Regions from separate parts of the Homo sapiens genome. Here regions 1, 2, 3, 4, 5 and 6 are each linked to region 7. Evidence: promoter capture Hi-C in 16 types of primary human blood cells and fetal thymus (Javierre and others, 2016). All regions are on one chromosome and are shown on one strand. The core of a region is centred on a gene start or on the middle of the fragment in contact, and the rest is flanking DNA. Distances in the headings are between cores, read along the strand shown.

Region 1 (2,700 bases), core at 135-2,634, 360 kb after region 7:
GACTCATTCTTTACTGGGGCAATCCTTAGAGGGCCTCTCCCTGCCAGGCCATCCCTCAGAGGCCTCTGGGTGCAATCTGCATTTTCCATCTTCAAAGACCCCTTTGTTCCTATCTTCCGCCTCAACACATAGCATCACTATAATCCAGAGAATTGAAGCATTAAAATTCTTCCCTTTGATTTGCTAAATAGGAACCCTCTCTTGACCCTATCCTCTGGCAGGATTTTATCCCATTGGCTAAAATCATGGTTCCTTCTGTCTCAGAACATATGACACTTGTTAATTCTTAAGCATCACAGCTGAAGCTTTGCATCCTTTGCGTCCTGACACACCTCTCCAAAGCTTGATATGTGTCTCTGGCTTGGGCTCTGCATGGTCCATTTTGCATAATGACATAGACACTGCCTAGTCCTTCGTACAGCAGAGGGCTCTTCTGATTTTCTTTGGTCTCAAAGGAACAGGCAGTAGGTGGAAGGCATGAGGCAGGTGTCTGGGATGTACTCAGCTGTGTAGGTGGGAAGGAGCCCATCCTTGACATTGCAGATGATCAGATGAGCCTCCTCTTCCTCCCTTTTTTTTTTTTTTTTGAGACAGAGTCTCGCCCTATTACCCAGGCTGCAGTGCAATGCAATGCAATGGCATGATCTCGGCTCACTACGACCTCCACCTCCCGGGTTCAAACGATTCTCCTGCCTCAGCCTCCTTAGTAGCTGGGATTACAGGCACCCGCCACCACACCCAGCTAATTTTTGTATTTTTAGTAGAGATGGGGTTTCACCATGTTGGCCAGACTGGTCTTGAACTCCTGACCTCGTGATCCACCCACCTCAGCCTCCCAAAGTGCTGGGATTACAGGCATGAGCCACCGTGCCCGGCCCTCTTGCTCCTCTTTAAAAAGAGTTTCTGGCCCCTGAAAATAAACATATATTCCAAGTTGCATGAAGGGAGGTATCAGAGATGAAGAGAGAAGACAGAGGTAGTCCTGCAGCCCTCCTTCCTTCACAGGGGCCACCTCTTCTCTCTTGAGGATTAAAAGATTTTGAGCTGTAATCTCTCTTCAGGCAGAGGGGAAACACTGGGTTCAGAACAGCATCACTTGGTGCCACGGTGCAGACGCATCTCTGAGTCTGACCGTTCTGACGCATCTCTGAGTGAGACAGAAGCAGAGGCACTGGGCGGTCCACAGGGTGTGAGTCTAATCTGCAACCACCTGCTCCAGCTGCAGAGGAAAAATTCTGAAGACACCTAAGGAAACAGGAGCTGCCCACACACTGCATCCTGATGTGAATTACGCCAGGAAAACATCTGCAAACCACGACCAGCAGTGTGTCCTGATACCACTGTGCCTGCAAGGCTCTCAGACATGCTGGGTGAAAACAGAGTCTGAGGAAGGATAACCCAAAACACCTTTATCATTTCAAAAGTCCACCTCAGAAGGCTTTGAAAAAAAAAAAAAAGTCACCGTTTTCTTTTCTATTAAATAGGATTTTAAAATCTAGTTACTTGGGAAACTTTGGTTTGATTTTAAGTATTTTTAAATTATTATTCTGCTTTATTCTTTTTTTGTTTTTCTTTTCTTTTTAGATGGAGTTTTGCTCTTGTTGCCCAAGCTGGAGAGCAGTGGTCTGATCTTGGCTCACTGCAACCTCCGTCTCCTGGATTCAAGAGATTCTCCTGCCTCCGCCTCCTGAATAGCTGGGATTACAGGCGTACGCCACCACGTCCGGCTAATTTTTTGTATTTTTAGCAGAGATGGAGTTTCACCATGTTAGCCAGGCTGGTCTCCGACTCCTGACCTCAGGTGATCCACCCACCTCGGCCTCCCAAAGTGCTGGGATTACAGGAGTGAGCCACAGCGCCCTGCCTAGTTTGCTTTATTCTTATCCCAGGTCTTAAGGTCATCAGAGACTAAATACTGAAAAAGTTATCTTCATTTCCCCTCCCCTTTGTTCCCTGATCCTAGAGTTTCTTTATCTACATGCTAAGGCAGGAAATTTCCCCTTATTTACCTCATACCAAGACCTATTACAAAATCCTTTAATGCAGCATAGTAGAGGTTTAAGACAATGAATTTTGGATCCAGCCTGCCTGGGTTCAGATTCTGGTTCTATCATTTATTAGCTGTGTGAACTTGGGCTGGTGACTTGACCTCTCTGTGCCTCAAATTCTGCTTATGCACAATGGAGTGACAATAGCACCTAGCTAATGGATTTAAGTTTTAAAAAAATCCATACCTGTAAATCACGTAAAATAGTGTCTAGCACAGAGTACATGGTAAGCACTAAATAAGTGTTGTGTTTTTTAATGGATTTTACTGTTACTGGTGTGTTTACATGCTTACACCATTCATAATTCAAAAATGCTTATTAAATTACTTATTTTTTACTTATTTAAGTTAGCAAAGATCAGAAGTTTAGTCTTACTAAAAAGCTTTTGCACAGCAAAAGAAACAACAGAGTGAAAATACAACCTACTGAATGGGAGAAAGAATTGTAAATCATATATCTGATAAAGGGTTAGCCTCCAAAATATATAAGGAAGTCCTACAACTCAACTGTAAAAAATAATTTTTTTTAATTTAAAAATGGGCTAAGGATTTCTATAGACATTTCTCTAAAGTAGACGTACAAACGGCCATCAGGTATATGAAAAAATGCTCAAAGTCACTAGCCATAAGGGAAATGCAGATCAAAGCCATGA
Region 2 (2,700 bases), core at 125-2,624, 480 kb after region 7:
GCCCTATGCCACATGCAGAATTCAGAGACGAAACAGACTCAGGCCCAGCCCCCAACAAGCTCCCAGCAGATGGGAGAGGGGAGAATGGGGGAGGGAAAGATCTACACAAATAGCTACAAAAGAGAGGCCCAGCAGTATAGCGTAGCAGGCAAGATTAATCAGTGACCATGTAGCAAGGCAGTGACAGGCCTGGCCTTTGAAAAGAGCCACGCCTTGGGGTGAGAGCCACTCATTAGCCAGGCCCAGGTATTCACCTCCCTAAGCTCCAGTTTCCTCCCCTATAAAACATGGACCATAATCACACCAGTGTGGCATGTGGTTTAGAGCCCAGGCCTTGGAGCCAGGGTGGCCTGGGTTTGATTCACAGAGCCACCATTTTATTTCAAAGCCATGTCATGCAACGGCCGTTACCTCACCTGTCAGAACCTCAGTGTCCCCGCCTCTGAAATGAGGCTAATAACACCAACCTCAGAGGGCTTGTGGGGGAATAAATGAAAAATCAGGTGTGAAGCACAGTATCTGGCACTCCATAAAATCAAGAGCTATTACCAGCAACATGAAGGTTAAATGGCATGTGTCAGTCATCACCGCAGGGGACAACCACTCAGCAGGTGTGGGCTGGGAGGAGCTTTCTGTTCTGTTTTTTGGGTTTTTTGTTTGTTGAGATGGGGTCTTGCTCTGTCACCCAGGGTAGAGTGCAGTGGCGCAATCCTAGCTCATTGCAGCCTCAAACTCCTGGGCTCAAGTGATCCTCCTGCCTCAGCCTCCTCAGTAGCTAGGGCTACAAACATGCACTACCATGCCTGGGCCAATTTTTTTTTTAAGAGACCTGTTCTTGCTATGTTGCCCAGGCTGGTCTTGAACTCCTGGGCTTAAGCAATCTGCCTGCCTCGGCCTCCCAAAGTGCTGAGGTTACAGGTATGAGCCACCATACCTGGCCAGGTATGGGTTTTTATAAAAGATTTTGTGAGAGGATAGGCACAGTGGCTCACACCTATAATCTCAGCACTTTGGGAGGTCGAGGCAGGTAGACTGCTTGAGTCCAAGAGTTCAAGATCAGCCTAGGTAACATCTCTACAAAAAATGATCAGGGCATGGTGGTATGTGCCTGTAGTTCCAGCTACTCGGGAGGCTGAGGTGGAAGGATTACCTGAGCCCAGGAGGTTGAGGCTGCAGTGAGCCATGATCACACCACTGCACTCCAGCCTGGGTGACAGAGTGAGACCTTGTCTCAAAAAAAAAAAAAAAGATTTTTGTGGGAGTCGCTCACTGCTCCCTGTGCGGTGGGGTGGAGGGAAGGGGAAAGTGTTCTTCCAAAAAGCTGAGATTTGAAGAATGAGGAGTGGGAAGAAAAGGGCTCGGGTGGTGGGTGTTTCTGGCACAGGGAAAGCTGTGGGAAATGGCCTGGCCAGGTGAGACAATGCGGGGAGTTCAGGGAGGGAGCAGTTCAGTGTGTTGGAGGCGTAACACTGGGAGAGTTGGAGGCCTGGAGGCTGGGGAAGGCAGGGGAGGGGACAAGTGCTGCCTGCGGGCCTGTTGGCAGTGGGGGTGTGGGTGGATAAGAGACGGGCCAATGGAGGGCCTCACGGAGGGGACAACTGCGAGGGTCCGACTCACCATGCAGGTCCTGAATAAAGCCGTGCTGGGCCTGGAGAAGTGTGGGTCGGGGAGGGATGGACACTGAACAGCAAGGCTCACCTCACATCCAGGAGGCCCCCCGCCAGCCCCGCCATGCCACAGGCACTGACGGTTGCCACTAAGCCTCAGAGGCCAACTGCATTTATTTGGAAATGGAGCAAGGCACTGGCCATGTCCAGGCTGGCTTTCCAGCCCTGTCCCCCAAAATCACAGTCTTCCTGCAATTACTCACAGGTGCTGGCCAATAGTGCTTAGGTTCTCAAATGCCTGCTTCTACTCAGGCTATCCTATCCACCTGCAGGGTCCTTCCCCTCAGCCGTCACAGGTTGAAACTGTGCCTCTTCACCATTGCCTGGAGTAGACAGAATAATGGCCCTCCAAAGATACGCCAATCGGAACCTGTGAGCATGTACCTTCCATGGCAGAAAGAGACTTTGCAGATGTGATTACATTAAGGATCTTGGAATGGGGGTTGGGTTATCCTGGATTATCCGATTGAGTCCAAAGTAATCACAAGGGTCCTTGTAAGAGAGAGGCGAGATGGTCAAGGTCACAGAGAGGAGCTGGGACCATGGAAGCAGAGGTCAAAGTGAGGCACTTTGAAGGAGGAAGATCCCACAAGCCAAGGAAGGCAGGCAGCCCCTGGAGGCTGGAAGAGGCCAGGAGACAGACTCTCCCGTAGAGCCCCTAGAAAAAAAGCATTTCTGATGACACCTTGATTTTAGCCCATAAGGCCCATTTCAGATTTCTGACTTCCAGGCCTAGAAGATAGTAAGTTTGTGTTGTTTTAAGCCACTGAGTTTGCCACCACTTGTTACAGCAGCAACGTGGAACTCATACATCACCTCTTCCTTCAGGCCTTTGTGATCCCTGGCACTCGCTCTTCCTCCTCTGAGCCCCTCTGGTGCTTTACCTGACCCTCTCCCAGGCACTGTCCTCTTCCTATATGGGTGAGAATTCATTGGCTCTTATCCCCTCTACCAGCCAGTGAGCTCCTTGAGGCTGGGGTCTGGCTCATATTTGTGCCCCCTTGCCCAACCACTGGTTGGGCTGATAATTCTC
Region 3 (2,700 bases), core at 62-2,561, 500 kb after region 7:
TGCTTCTCATGAGCCCAGTGGTATCCCAGACCAATCCTGTGGTTATTTCCCAGTGTCTGGAGTGGACTAGACATAGTCAGTAAAAGGATCCTGATCCTTACCAGTAAGGATTACGTGGTTTAGAAAAAGGACCAGCAACACTACATCTCTAAGGGAATGACAGAGATTAGTGCCACATGAAAGATTTGATGGGCCAGGAGTGGTGGCTCATGCCTGTAATCCCTGCACTTTGGAAGGGCAAGATGGGGAGAGAACACAGGAATGTAAGATCAGCCCTGGCAATAGAGTGAGATCCCTGTCTCTAGTTTAAAAAAAAAAAAAAAAAAAAAAAAAACCTCAAAAATTAGTCTGGCGTGGTGGCACACGCTTGTAGTCCCAGCTACTTGGGAGCCTGAGGTAGGAGGATTGCTTGAACCTGGGAGGTCAAGGCTTCAGTGAACTGTGATTGTACCACTGCCCACCGGCCTGGGCAACAGAGAGAGACCCTGTCTCAAAAAAAAAATGATAAATTTAGGGTTAACTTGCCTAGTTTTTCTGTGCAGAACATGAACAGATGTTAGAGAATAGCCATGAATTATTTTACAATTTATCACATGGTTGTTCCAACAGCAGTCGTTGATCCAGATTGTGTCCCTTTTCTAAAGCAGATCACCATTGACCCTGGCACCTGCTGTGGGAAATTCTTTTTTCTTTATCCCAATAAACAAAGAGTACCAGAATAAATATGCTTTCACCTGCAGAGAAAGCAACACGGTCATTCCCCTTATCCATGGTTTCGCTTTCCACAGCTTCAGTTACCTGTGGTCAACTGTCATCCAAAAATATTAAATGGAAAATTCCAGAAATAAACAATTTGTCAGTTTTGAAGTGTGCTGCCCTGAAGAGCATGATGAAATCTCACACTGCCCCACTCTGTCCAGCCCAGGACAGGAATCATCCCTTTGTCCAGCTCTCCATGCTCTATGCACCACCCACCCACTAGTCGTCGCTTAGTAGCTGTCTCAGTTGTCAGATCAACTGTTGCAGTATTGCCGTGCTTGTGTTCCCTTATTTTACTTAATTACGACCCCAAAGTGCAAGAGCAGTGATGCTGATAATTCAGATTTGCCAAAGGGAAGCCACAAAGTGCTTTTTTTTTTTTCTTAAAAGGAGTTTTGCTCTTGTTTCCCAGGCTGGAGCACAATGGCGTGATCTCGGTTTACCTCAACCTCTGCCTCCCGGGTTCAAGCGATTCTCCTGCCTCAGCCTCCCAAGTACCTGAGATTACAGGCATGCGCCACCATGCCTGGCTAATTTTGTATTTTTGGAAGAGACAGTGTTTCTCCATACTGGTCAGGCTGGTCTCAAACTCCTGACCTCAGGTGATCCTCCAGCCTTGGCCTCCCAAAGTGCTGGGATCACAGGCATGAGCCACCGCGCCCAGCCAGCAAAATGCTTTCTTTAAGAGAAAAGATGACAGTTCAAAACTTACTACGGAAAGAAAAAAACCATACGCTGAGGTTGCTAAGATCTACAGTATGATAAGATATTTTGAAAGAGAGAGACCACATTCAAATAATTTTTATTACAGTATATTGTTATAACGATTCTATTTTATTAGTTATTGTTGTTAATCTCTTGGTCTGCCTAATTTATAAAGTAAACTGTATCTTAAGTATGAATGTGTAGGAAAAAGCATAGTGTAGATAGATTTAGGTGCTATCCACAGTTTTGGGCATCCAGTCAGGATCTTTGAATGTATTCCCTGTGAAATAATGAGCAACTACTGGGCATCTTTTCCAGGATGTGCAGAGAATCAAACTTGGAGGGTATGCAAACAGAAAAATTCCCCAAATCACACTCAAGGATTGCTCTAGGAACACACCACTGCTGTCACTTCTGGCCACCAAAATTGAAGCTCAAACTATGGATGATGGGCACTGCATGTCTTTGCCAGAGCCGCTGCTATTGCTTCCTCAAAAAATCACATATCTCTGCCCAACCTTGTTCCTGCCATAAAAAATTCCACTCAGCACCTCCTTTAAATCAAAATCAAAGTCCTTCACTCCAATGGGGTGCCATGGTTAAAAAAAAAAAAAAAACGTCTTGTGCGGGCGCACCTGAGTGGCAGGGCTGTCAGGGGCCCATGCCCTAGATGCAGGTGAGCTCGGAAAAGCAAGTTTCTGACCTCTCCCTTGGGGAGCTTCACACTTAAGGTGGAGAATTTCCCAAATTGAGGTAGAGAAAAGATACATAAAATGGGCCAGGCCTTGTGGCTCACACCTGTAATCCCAGCACTTTGGGAGGCCGAGGCAAGTGGATCACCTGAGATCAAGAGTTCAAGACCAGTCTGGCCAACATGGTGAAACCCCCGTCTTTACTAAAAATACAAAAATTAGCTCAGCGTGGTGGCAGGTGCCTGTAGTTCCAGCTACTCAGGAGACTGAGGCAGAAAATCGCTTGAACCCGGGAGGTAGAGGTTGGATTGAGCTGAGATCGTGCCACTGCATTTCAGCCTGGACGACAGAGTGAGACTCCGTCTCAAAAAATAATAATAATAATAAATAAAATAAATAAAAAGATATGTAAAATGGTAGATGAGGAAGACAGCAGGTAGCAGAAAAAGAACCAGAGAAGAGTAAACAGTTGCATATTAACAGCGGAGCGCTAGAAAAGAGATCACAGACTCTCACTGCTCAGGTGTCTTGCTAGAGCCACCTT
Region 4 (2,700 bases), core at 22-2,521, 440 kb after region 7:
TGGACACCTTTTATACACCTCCATAGGGGCTGGTTATCTTCTCTCCTCCCTTCCCCACCCTCTGACTTGGTGCCAACTACACTTCTGTTTCCCACAAGCTTAGTTATCTCTGATCTCTCCAGGGTGGGTTGTGCCTTTTGGGGGTGGCTTTTTTTTTAATCCTTAACAAAAAGAATGATTCAGAGGGGACAGCATTCTGCCTGAGACTGCCCTTTTGACAAGTGAATTCTGTTTCACCTCCACTTAAGGAGTTCACTGTGCAGGCTCTGAGCCCCACCCAGTATTAGAACGGGACCTGAGATGCGGAGGCCTGCCAGGAGCTTCTGCGAGGAAAGTGGTGGGTGCAGAGTGGCTCTGTGCTTTGCAAGGTCACCGTAGCCCTCGACCTTCCTTTTTTCTATACCTAAAACTTCTGACTGGGATGTCCTGGATCCTTCTTAGCACTTCATCTACTCCAGGGGCCCCAGCAACTCTGATGACAAACTTTGCTTGGTTCGATAGAATCACCTGCCTTGAAAGTATTTAGACTGAGAAAGAAATAGCTCCGAGGCCATCAGAAAAAGTCACAGTGACAGAGACCTTAAGGGATCTTAGGGACCATCAGACACAGCTGTGGAAACTCAGGCATGGAAAGAGGAAGTGGCCCTGTCCATTATCATAGCGAATATTCTCCGAGCCCTCACCATAGGCAGGAACTGGGTGAAGTTACTTTACACTCATCATCTCATTTAACCTTCACAGCAGCCACAGGAGGAGGGTCCTACTATTGCCCCCATTTACACATGAGGAAAATGAACCTTAAGGGCAGAATCAGGACTGAAATCCAAGTCTGGTTCTGTCTGACGCTAAGGTGCATTTTTTAGGTACATTTTTCATACAGTAAAATGTATAGATCACGTGTCCAGCTTGATGTCACGCATGGGTATGCACGACCTGTGTAAACACCACCCAGGACATTCCCAGCATTCCATAAAGGTCCTTGTACCTTTTCCCAGTCAATTACCTGACTCCACACCCCTGGTGTAACCACTCTTCCAACTTCTGTCCCCATAGACAAGTTCAGAGGTCCTCAGCTAGAGGCTGCTTTGCTCTCCAGGGGACGTTTGACAATGTCTAGGAACATTTTGGTTGTCACAACTTGGGGGCACTACTGATAGCTAAACACCAGGTATGCTGCTAAACATCCTATAAGGTGCAGGACTGTCCCCACAGCAAAGAATTATCAGACCCAAAATATCAATAGTGTTGAGGTTGAGATGCCTGGGTCAGTCTGGCCCTCGGGTTGAATCACTCCATTACGCTGACTGCTTTAGGGCACAGTCACATCCAGGAAGACGGCCCTGTAATAATGTGAGCAGGGTCCTTTCTAGTACGCCAGTCATATGAGGTCTGTCCCAGCCAAGAGGCCACATAAGAGGATGTGACACAGGACCCAGGGCCAGGGTCTCAGCTTAGGATCCTGAGATGTGGCTGAGAAACTCAGGGACTATGTAAGAACCCTGCCAGAGGGAGCTTCCCCATTCAGGCTGGGAGAAAAGGACCTCAGATGGCATCTGTGAGGCCAGGATAGAAGGTCCTCCATTCCAGGGCTGACAATGGAGGACCCTGAATGCAGACTCCCAGGCCCCACTCACCAAGGGGCCAGGGTTGCTGTGGATGGCATCTTGGGAGCAGCTTTCTGGCCCACAGCAGCCACAAAGGTCTGGATGATACCAGGCCAGGGGCTGGGTGGGGTGGCACAGGCATGAGGTTCTCCTGGAACCCCCTTCACTGATTCAGCAAGATCAGAAAGGAGAAATCTGAGTCAGGGCTTTCTGGGCCTTTGTTTTCTGGGGTAGAGAAGCGGGCCTGTGCTTCCCGCAGGGGTATCAGCAGGGACAGAGCCAGGGCACGTTGCCAGTGTTCTAACAGCCTTGCGAGGCCAGGGATTCAGGCTAACCCCTGACCCTGCCCGGCCCTCCTGCCCAAGCTGATGGCTCAGCTCTCTCTCTCTCTCTCTCTCTCTCTGAAAAGGGGTGATTCAGCCCAAAGCAGGAGCTCTTGCTCTCTCGGTAGAGGATCAAAACTGACAAGAAGGTGATTAATGGAACCTGCCATGCCTGGGGTAACAATGCCCCAAACCTCCCAGAGCTGACAAGCAGGTTCAGGCCAACGCCTCTTAGAGTAACAATGCTGCAGATCCTCCAAAGCCCCAGTAACACAAACACGGAGTGGCCCGTGACATTCCTTCCTTTGCGGGGTCAGGGCACAGCCTCTGCCCGCTTAGCGGGGACTTGTAATGCCTTGACACAGGACTGCCTTCCTCCAACCCGCAGTGAATCCCAGAGCCCTCTGGGAGGAAGCTAGGCAGAGATCCAACCAGGGACCCATCTTTTTTCCTATTTCCACCCTGGTCCTAATGGAAGAAGGAGAGAGCGCTGGGGCTGAGGCACTGCTACCTCGTCTTAAGCTTTCTGCTTTGTTTTTTGGCAAAAACAACAACAACAACAAAAAGAAACCCAATGACTGCGGTCTCCTCCCAAGAACGTTTCAAGGGAAGGAGCAGCAAAACTGCATTATGAGTACCCCTGCAAGCAAGGCTGGGCTTAACACACTGTCACCAAGTCTCACAACAGGAGAGGGTTTAAGTCAGCCCCATTTTATAGATGAGGCAGCCAAGGTTCAGGGAGGGAAAGTCACTTATCCAAGGATACCAAGAAA
Region 5 (2,700 bases), core at 109-2,608, 410 kb after region 7:
TTAAGGGGGTTGCTGAACTTGGAGGGCTGCATGAAAGGGCTGCAATGGTAGGGGGCTTATGTAAATGCACCCCTAAAAGTACCCTGGGAGGGAGACACCCTATCGCCGGTCTTACAAGGACCACAGACAAGAGGCTGATAAAGTGGCCTAAAACCCTCCCTGTTATGCTGATCTCAGTTTCCATCTCAGTTTTGTCCCTCCCACTCTGGGATCCCCAGGTGACCACGTATACTAAGAGGGATTCCACAGCAGTCTGAAAACACCTGGCACCACACTGGAATCTTGGAGAAAGGTCTTCATCAGGGAAGCCAAGCAAAAGCTCTCACTGTAGGCCTCTACCCACCCCAAACAGGGGCATAGTGACCCTGTCATCCAAAGGGTCATACTTGGTCACACATCTCCCATTCGGCTGCCCAACAGTCACCCCCTGGACACAGCAGAGACACAAGCCAACAACACCAGAATGGTGCAAGTTAGGCATCAGGGGCCTGAGCAAATGCACTTTATTGTTCTGCCAACAAAAGCCCTCTACTGCATTTCAGAATCCACCGGAACAGCACCTAGAAGGAAAACCTGACCCAGGAGGCAGCCTGAGAACAGAGACCCTGGCACCCATTGAAATGATGAGGAGTTGAGACCTTTGGGGGCAGCCGGCCTTTGTGACAGGCTCTGAGAAACTTTAGGGCATGTATTTGCAGAAAGCCTTTTCAGCCAGACCCTGGGCCTGGGCTCTGCGCGAAGAGAGGGGATTGGGCTACAAGGGTTAAGTTTGGGTAGAGGCCAAGTTCAAGCCCTGGAGACAATAGCCATGGCCATCTGGGTCACCCGCTCTCAGAACCGACCCCCTGGGCAGGGCACACAAATGGGGCGGGGGCTGCAGTTTGTGCGGGCTGCACTAGGACCGCAGGAGGCCGCAGGAAGACAGGGAAGGCATGACTTGGAGGGTGAGTAGTCAGGTGCACATGGGTTACAGGGGAGCCTAGAAAAAAGAAAACAAATTACTGTGATTTTCCAGTTGCTGTTTGCAGTAACTCAAAGTAGATCCTAGACTATGCAAACTGGGAAGCACCCTAAAAACCACCTTGATCCTGCCCCCTTGTTTTACCAAAAGGGAAACAGGCCCTGAGAGGAAAGGGGGCTTGCTGGAGTCACGTGATGAGTTTTCAGGAAGACCAGAACTAAGAGAACAGAACTCCAGACTCCGAATGCCAGGCTCTTTCTAGGCACCATGCTGTCTTCCCAGAACTTGGTAGATTGCAGTGAGAAGACAAGAGCACATGCAGTGATACTCACTTGCTGTCCTCACTCTCCAGCAGGCCCCGGTACGTGTTGATCTCACACTCCAGCCGGGCCCGGACGTCCAGCAGCACCTGGTACTCCTGGTTCTGCCGCTCCAGGTCAGCCCGGATCTCGGCCAGCTGGGCCTCCACGTTGGTGATCATGCACTGCATCTGGGCCAGCTGGGAGCTATAGCGGGCCTCCGTCTCTGCCAGGGTGGATTCCAAAGCATCTCTCTGTGAGGGCAAGAGTTGTGTAGGGAGGAAAAAGGCTAGAGGTCAGAGAAGGAGCAAGGAAGGAATCTTCCTTGGAGCTATAGCGGGCCTCCGTCTCTGCCAGGGTGGATTCCAAAGCATCTCTCTGTGAGGTCAAGAGTTGTGTAGGGAGGAAAAAGGCTAGAGGTCAGAGAAGGAGCAAGGAAGGAATCTGGGTCTCAGTGAGGCCTCAGAATCCAAGAACAGAAGCTCGGAGAATCAGAGTTTGAGCTAGGATGAACCACAATCAGACATCTCACTTGAGATGAGCTAATTAGCCCCTGTGGCTTCTTTGATCTAGAAAGTATCTCCCTGTTAGTGTCATCTCTGAGTAACTGATAGTTACTCAGAAGATGTATCTGCTTGCACAAATATAGGACCTACTGCCTGGACATGTCAGTTGCTACAGGTCTCTTGTCCTTTACCACTGGGGGATTTGTGACTGGAGCTGGTCCCTCATTCCCTCTTTTCTGCATAGAGAACCCCTGGTGCTCAAGAACATGGACCCCTGGAGTCCGCCTGTGTGGTCAAAGCATGGAAGCTGGGGAGCTTGTGTGCTCCTCGGCTTGGTCCAGAGGCAGCTCCACCCTGCCTTGGGGCTCACCATGCTGTGCTGAGCCTGCAGCTCAATCTCCAGGGCGTTGACCGTGCGTCTCAGCTCGATGATCTCTGCCTGGCAGGACTGCAACTGCTCTGAGCTGGACACCACCTGCTGGTTCAGCTCCTCACTCTGAAACATACACACACAGAACCTGGTCAGCCACACCAGGGACTTGGCTTCAGAGAGCTACAGAGGCCGGTTAGAATCATGAGCCAAGAAAGACATTCCCGATTCCCCAGTCCCACTCATTTATTTTATACTGGAGGGCATTGTTGCTCAGAGGACAGCAACCTGCCCAAGTGGGTCTGTTTTGACCTTGTCAGCAAGGTCAATTGAAGTGGGTCTGTTTTGACCTTGTCAGCAAGGTCAAAACAGAGATGGGACTCAAAGTTAGATTTCTTGATTCAGAGCCCCAGGGTCACTTCCATGTGAGCCACCACATACCCCTGTTGCACTGACTGTTTCCAGGTACCTACCTGGGTGTCCAACCAGTCTTCAGCATCCCGGCGGTTATTCTCCACCAGGGTTTCATACTGGCACCTCATCTCCTCCAGAACTCGGTTCAGG
Region 6 (2,700 bases), core at 161-2,660, 390 kb after region 7:
AAATGTTAAATGTTTTCTCTTTAGAGATGCCCCATTGAAAAGTTAGACTTTGTTCCTTGAGTGACTATCTGGCCTCTCTCTAGGAATGGCATTGGCTCTAAGATGAATCGTCCTCTCCACTGACCTTCAATACCCAAAAAAGTAAAATTCTCTGATAAGAGCCTCAGGAATCCCTAAAGAGCAATAGAGCAAAGACTGCTAAGTTATTAGAACTAAAGAAAACTTCCAAGTACTAATTCAACCTTTCGTGCTTCAGAGACCAGAGAAGGACAGTGAGCTCCCCAGGGATGCCAAGCAAGTCAGATACAGAGCCAGGACTGGTCCCAGGGCCCCTAGCACATTCTGTTTCCTCTGCACCAAGATGGACAAGCTTTTTCTGTTAAAAAGACAGATGCTAAATATTTTAGGCTTTGCAAGTCGTATACTCTCTTTGTACTGCAACTACTTAGCTCTGCCATTGTAGCACAAAGCAGACATAGACAACAGGGAAATGAATGGGTGTGGCTATGCTCCAATAAAACTTGATTTACCAAAACAAGTAGCAGTGGGGTTTGACCTGTGAGCTGTAGTTGCCATCCCTGCTTCACACAGCACAGTGAATGAGGCTTAAAAATTGGACCCCTTAAGCATGTGGGAGACCTTCAGTCCGCTCTGGAGCCAGAGGGCTGGGCAGAGGGAGGGCACCTGGGAATGGATGGTGAACTCCAGGACTGGACGCTGAGCCTCAGACACCAGGGCCTTCACTCTACCAGGGCATTTACACCAAGACTGGAAGTTCATCCAATGCTCTTAGAGCAAAGCAAAGCTACCCATATGTTGTTGTTGCTGCTGCTGCTGCTGCTGTTGTTGTTTCTGAAACTTGGGCTTCAGAATGGCTCCAAAATATGACTCAGCTGCCATTGTAATTGGGGAAAGTCAGAAGAGAAGAGAAATTTGTTGCCAAAGCATGTTTTCTTTACTCAACATTCATCAGGCACCTACAATATGCCAGGCATCATGACAGGCATTTTTATATGTACTATATCCCAACAACTCTGTGAAAAAGGTAGAATTACTCCCATTTCTAAAGGGGAGAAGACTGAGATGCATAGAGATTAAGAGTTCTGCCAAAATCACACAGCACATTAGCAGCAGAACTGGGGGTCTAGCCCAGTTTTTCTGAAGCCAAAGGCACTGATCTTCTCCATTAATCCTAGATGCTCATTGGTGACTTTGTTTACATATTATGATTAAGGGACACTGCTATTTAAATACAAATTTGTCTTGATCAGTTGGGCAAAAAGATAGACATCAAATGATCTTAGGAACTTTCTGTTTAGCCGAATTGATATCATTGCATTCAAGTGTTACATTTTATGAAATACAGGCCGGGTGCAGTGGCTCACGCCTGTAATCCCAGCAGTTTGGAAGGCCAAGGTGGGTGAATCACCTGAGGTCAAGAGTTCGAGACCAGCCTGGCCAACATGGTGAAACCCCATTTCTACTAAAAATACAAAAATTAGCCAGGCATGGTGGCATGTGCCTGTGGTCCTAGCTACTCAGGAGGCTGAGGCACAAGAATCACTTGAACCCAGGAGGCAGAGGTTGCAGTGAGCCAAGATCATGCCACTGCACTCCAGCCTGGGCTACGGGGCGAGACTCTCTCTCCAAAAGAAAAAAAAATTATGAAATACAAAAAGAATATTGTTTTATTATTAATGATTTTCCTGGTTATACCCTGGAAGAGGCATATTCTTTTTTTGATCACTCTCTAAAAGGTTTCCTAATATAGTGGTGAAGAAAGATTCAGTCAGTGCAATTCAGAGTCCACACACAGCCCCAACTCCCAGATGCCAAACCCAACTCCTGGATCTTTCGGGAAGCTGTCGCCCTCTGGCCAGTCTTCCTTGAATGGCAGTTCTGCCCATGGGCCCTCACTCTCACCCCCAGAAGAGGGTGCTTTGCACTAGGGCAGTGAGCAGCAGGGGTGAGGCCCAAACTCTTGAATAGCCTTGGGGAAAGTGGTGTCTTTAAAAAGCACACCCTTTTCTTTTCCAATCCCGCTCAGAGAGGATCCCTGATACCTGTGAGGGTTTCTCCAAAACATCAAATATGACAGAGGTTTTATGACTTGACCAGGGTCCTGCCTACATTTCCCTATAAACTCTTCCCCTATAAAGAGTTAATTAGATGCAAATGCTTTGATATGAGGAGAGAGTTCCTCTGAGAATCTCCATGAGTGGTACACTGAGTCCAGTTCCCAGGAGATTCCGGTGCTGGTGGGGGATAAATATCTCCCAAAGTCTATGCCCACGGCTTCTTCATCCATCAAATAAGAGACAGGCTAGGCAGGAGGGTAGCTCGTGACACCTCTGGCTTGAAGTACCATCCAGACACAGAAGATGATGGGCCTCACTTCTAGCAGAGGAGGGTACTCCTGGCCCTGGGCTGTGGGGCTTGGTTTCATATAAAAAGCTTTAACAGTCATCTTGGGAGTCAGACAGGTCTTGGCAAGTGGGAGAGACACACAGGTGTGGGAATGGGGACCGAGTTGGACTGAAACAATATGCACTGGGGAAACGGAGACTCTGGAAGTCCCCAGGGGGTCCAGGGTCCAGGACTTCTGGCCCACAACTCCTGTGCAATCATTCCTGCTGAGGCTCTGGGCTGCAGCTCAAGGTCTTTGCTCTTACTGAGCCCAGTGCTCAAAGAAAGAGGAGA
Region 7 (2,700 bases), core at 81-2,580:
CCTCTGAAATAATGGTCCTGAAATTCTAATGAATTACATGGAAGTGATAGAAAATAAACAGCCTTGGGCCCCACTCCCAGAGATTTTGATTCATTAGGTTTGGTTTGGGGCCTAAGAATGTGCATTTTAATAGGCAATTGCAAGAGATTCTATTGTGTATGACGCATGGGCCACACTTTGAAAAATGCTACTCTAGGAACTGTGGTAAGAAGATGAGATGCGCTGTGCTGGTCAGTTTACTACCAGTGGTCATTCTGGGCTTGGCATATGCTATTCCCACTTCTACCCCTCTTCATGAACATTGTCTTTCCTTTTGTCTATTCCATTAGACCATAAGCTTCTTGGATACAAGGCATGTAGCTTGTTCATCACTAATCAGGCAGCACCTGTCAACTGGAGGTCCCTTGATAAACAATTCCTGAATGACTGAATAGATGAGATTTCTATGGATAAGGTTTTGCTTAGGTTGAGCTTTGTTTCCCTTGTGCAGGTTCCAAAATCTTGCTTATCTGTGTACGCTAATAAACATGCACTAACGAACAAATCAGGGAGCAGGGCAGTCTGCTATGCCAGGAAAAATTAGTTTATTGACAACAGTGAGCAACACATTGCAAAAGATGATGGTGACAGTTTGAGCAGTAAAAACCATCAGGTTGTAGAATGTGTTTGCAAAGTCCACCCCAGGAATTCTTAAAGGTCGATTTACTATCCATAATGACTAAGGCTGATGTAGACACCTGAAAATGTGGGTGAGGGTGGTAATGGACGTCTGCTTACACCAGGCTGTATCCAGATGGTAAAAATCACTATTGTCACCTTGTGAAAAAAAATCTATTTTTCTTTTAACTTTTTAAAAACACCAGATAGATGTTTAGGCTTCAGTGTATTGCTCTGTGGGGGCATTGGGGTCTCAGCAGGAGGAGGTCCTGCAGGTGGTGCTGCAAGGGGTCGGCTGGCCGCAGGGGGGCCGGCAGCAGGGGGACTGCACAGACACAGGCTGGCAGCAGGTGGTGGCCCAGCAGCAGGGCCTGCACACCACAGCCGTGCACGACGAGGGGCAGCAGGTGATGGGGCGGCAGCAGCCTTCCTGCAGGGAGCAGGGGTCGCAGCACACCGGGCGGCGGCAGGGCTCGCAGATGGGGCGCGTGCAGCGGGGCACGCAGGTCACGGGGCGGCACACGGTGGTCTGGCAGGTCACGGGGCGGCAGCAGCAGGGGTCGCGGCAGCAGCAGGGCTGGCAGCAGCCTCCCCCGTAGCTCAGGGAGGACAAGGTGGAGCCGCAGCAGGAGCCGGTCATGGTGGTGTCTGAGGCTGGTGTGGGTTGGGCTATTGAGAGGAGCTGGATGTTCTCAGGTGTGAATGTCCTCCTCCCCCTCTGGGCCCTTTATATACCCTGGCTGGGAGCTGATGACCCTTCAACATATGATCATTTTCTTGTGCATCTTCTGGCCAATTAAGTGAAGATTTAGCATTGACTAATGGTATTTTGGTCACTCTTCACCTCATACATATTCATGTACATACACCACAAATATTCGCTCATTTTCTTGTATTGTTTATCCTCACTAAATTTAGACATTGGATTCACTTCTGATTAATTTTCCTTTGAAATATTCCTAACCCATAAGAGAGAAAAGAATGTGTTTTCTAAATTAGTGTCTAATCGCTCTGCCCTTTGGCGCTAAAATTAGCATGTTCTTCCTTGTCTTCAAAGGCTCCCATCACCGGCACCCAAGCAGTGACTTGCCTTATTAATGCACATGGGCATGATGGTAGCAGGTTAATTGCATCATCCTAGTGCAGACCAGTAGTCATCTGCTTCACAGATAGCTCCTTCCATGACTCACTTAAAGATAGGCTTGTGGTTTTTCATATGAGCAGGGACCACACGAAATGCAGATCCCTGGCCACTGGTGTGGTCACTCTCCCCTGACTAGGACCTGGGCTTTCCTGCCTTGGTTTTGATGTGTCATCATTCACCTGGAATGCCCTCCTCATCCTTCCAATCCAAACTCAACTTCTACCTTGATTGTAAAACCCTCTTCAAGGATCCATTGCAATTATTATATTTGTAATTTGTTTGGAATTAGTCGTTGCATCTGTAGAGTCCGGGAAGGGATTGCGGAGAATATGTAGGCCTATGCCCTCACTCTACAGCTGAGGTCCTGAGAGTGTACCAAGGTCACACAATGAGGTCACCATATGAGGTCTGAGATCCAGGTCTCCTCAGTCTGCAGTAAGTAGCCTCTACTATGAGTTTTATGCTCATTGGATTCAGTAAACCATGGTCTTTAGACAGGAAAGAAAACATATATTAAAGTAGAAGCCCAGACTTCATGCCACTATGCAATATATCCATGTAACAATGCTGCATTTGAACCTCTTACATTTATACATATTAAACACAGATTTAAAAAAATAAGTAATGAACTTTCCTTTCAGCAGCAAGGTTAGAAGTGGTACTGGAAGAGAATTAGGGAAATGTTTTGCCCAGATGACACATTGTCATCCTGGACCCCCATTGACTCCACTAAGTATGACAATGTGTCTGAGAGCTAGAGAAGGGACCTGGAGAAAGCTAACATGATGCAGGGTTTATTAGTGGAACTTACATACAAGGGTGGTCCAGTGGTGGTATCTGGACAGGAGAACTGCTATTATTTGTAAAAAGCATGCAGTTCACACAGTATTTTCATTAGA

Evidence for each region. Contacts are between HindIII fragments. The CHiCAGO score rates a contact against its expected background, and 5 or more counts as called.
Region 1: a contact is called between a fragment that was not itself captured here and the fragment with the promoter of KRTAP2-4 in region 7, in 4 of 17 cell types (naive CD8 T cells, activated CD4 T cells, non-activated CD4 T cells and 1 more). The highest score is 8.6, in naive CD8 T cells.
Region 2: a fragment that was not itself captured here is called in contact with the fragment with the promoter of KRTAP2-4 in region 7 in 5 of 17 cell types (total CD4 T cells, naive CD4 T cells, naive CD8 T cells and 2 more); the score reaches 7.0 in total CD4 T cells.
Region 3: a fragment that was not itself captured here is called in contact with the fragment with the promoter of KRTAP2-4 in region 7 in 3 of 17 cell types (non-activated CD4 T cells, total CD4 T cells and total CD8 T cells); the score reaches 7.1 in non-activated CD4 T cells.
Region 4: a contact is called between a fragment that was not itself captured here and the fragment with the promoter of KRTAP2-4 in region 7, in 6 of 17 cell types (activated CD4 T cells, naive CD8 T cells, total CD8 T cells and 3 more). The highest score is 8.4, in activated CD4 T cells.
Region 5: a contact is called between a fragment that was not itself captured here and the fragment with the promoter of KRTAP2-4 in region 7, in 4 of 17 cell types (total CD8 T cells, activated CD4 T cells, naive CD8 T cells and 1 more). The highest score is 6.5, in total CD8 T cells.
Region 6: a fragment that was not itself captured here is called in contact with the fragment with the promoter of KRTAP2-4 in region 7 in 1 of 17 cell types (non-activated CD4 T cells); the score reaches 5.2 in non-activated CD4 T cells.

What each region holds. Positions count from the first base shown.
Region 1 is chr17:41,428,736-41,431,435 of GRCh38, forward strand. No RefSeq gene overlaps it. Among named protein-coding and RNA genes, the nearest start is that of KRT37, 5.5 kb to the left of the region's middle. The HindIII fragment of the contact is 2,088 bases long and covers 341-2,428 here.
Region 2 is chr17:41,544,542-41,547,241 of GRCh38, forward strand. No RefSeq gene overlaps it. Among named protein-coding and RNA genes, the nearest start is that of LINC00974, 8.6 kb to the right of the region's middle. The HindIII fragment of the contact is 7,630 bases long and covers 1-2,700 here.
Region 3 is chr17:41,560,805-41,563,504 of GRCh38, forward strand. No RefSeq gene overlaps it. Among named protein-coding and RNA genes, the nearest start is that of LINC00974, 7.7 kb to the left of the region's middle. The HindIII fragment of the contact is 7,476 bases long and covers 1-2,700 here.
Region 4 is chr17:41,505,628-41,508,327 of GRCh38, forward strand. No RefSeq gene overlaps it. Among named protein-coding and RNA genes, the nearest start is that of KRT13, 1.4 kb to the left of the region's middle. The HindIII fragment of the contact is 2,351 bases long and covers 97-2,447 here.
Region 5 is chr17:41,476,225-41,478,924 of GRCh38, forward strand. It overlaps KRT35 (keratin 35), which reads right to left. Exons shown (of 7, transcript NM_002280.6): 4 at 2,610-2,700; 5 at 2,137-2,262; 6 at 1,294-1,514; 7 at 486-979. The coding sequence ends at 832. Among named protein-coding and RNA genes, the nearest start is that of KRT35, 3.6 kb to the right of the region's middle. The HindIII fragment of the contact is 6,798 bases long and covers 1-2,700 here.
Region 6 is chr17:41,454,528-41,457,227 of GRCh38, forward strand. No RefSeq gene overlaps it. Among named protein-coding and RNA genes, the nearest start is that of KRT32, 12 kb to the right of the region's middle. The HindIII fragment of the contact is 2,084 bases long and covers 369-2,452 here.
Region 7 is chr17:41,064,549-41,067,248 of GRCh38, forward strand. It overlaps KRTAP2-4 (keratin associated protein 2-4), which reads right to left and starts at 1,331. Exons shown (of 1, transcript NM_033184.4): 1 at 568-1,331. The coding sequence starts at 1,297. The coding sequence ends at 911. RefSeq lists enhancers at 527-1,064, 1,065-1,601. The HindIII fragment of the contact is 6,863 bases long and covers 336-2,700 here.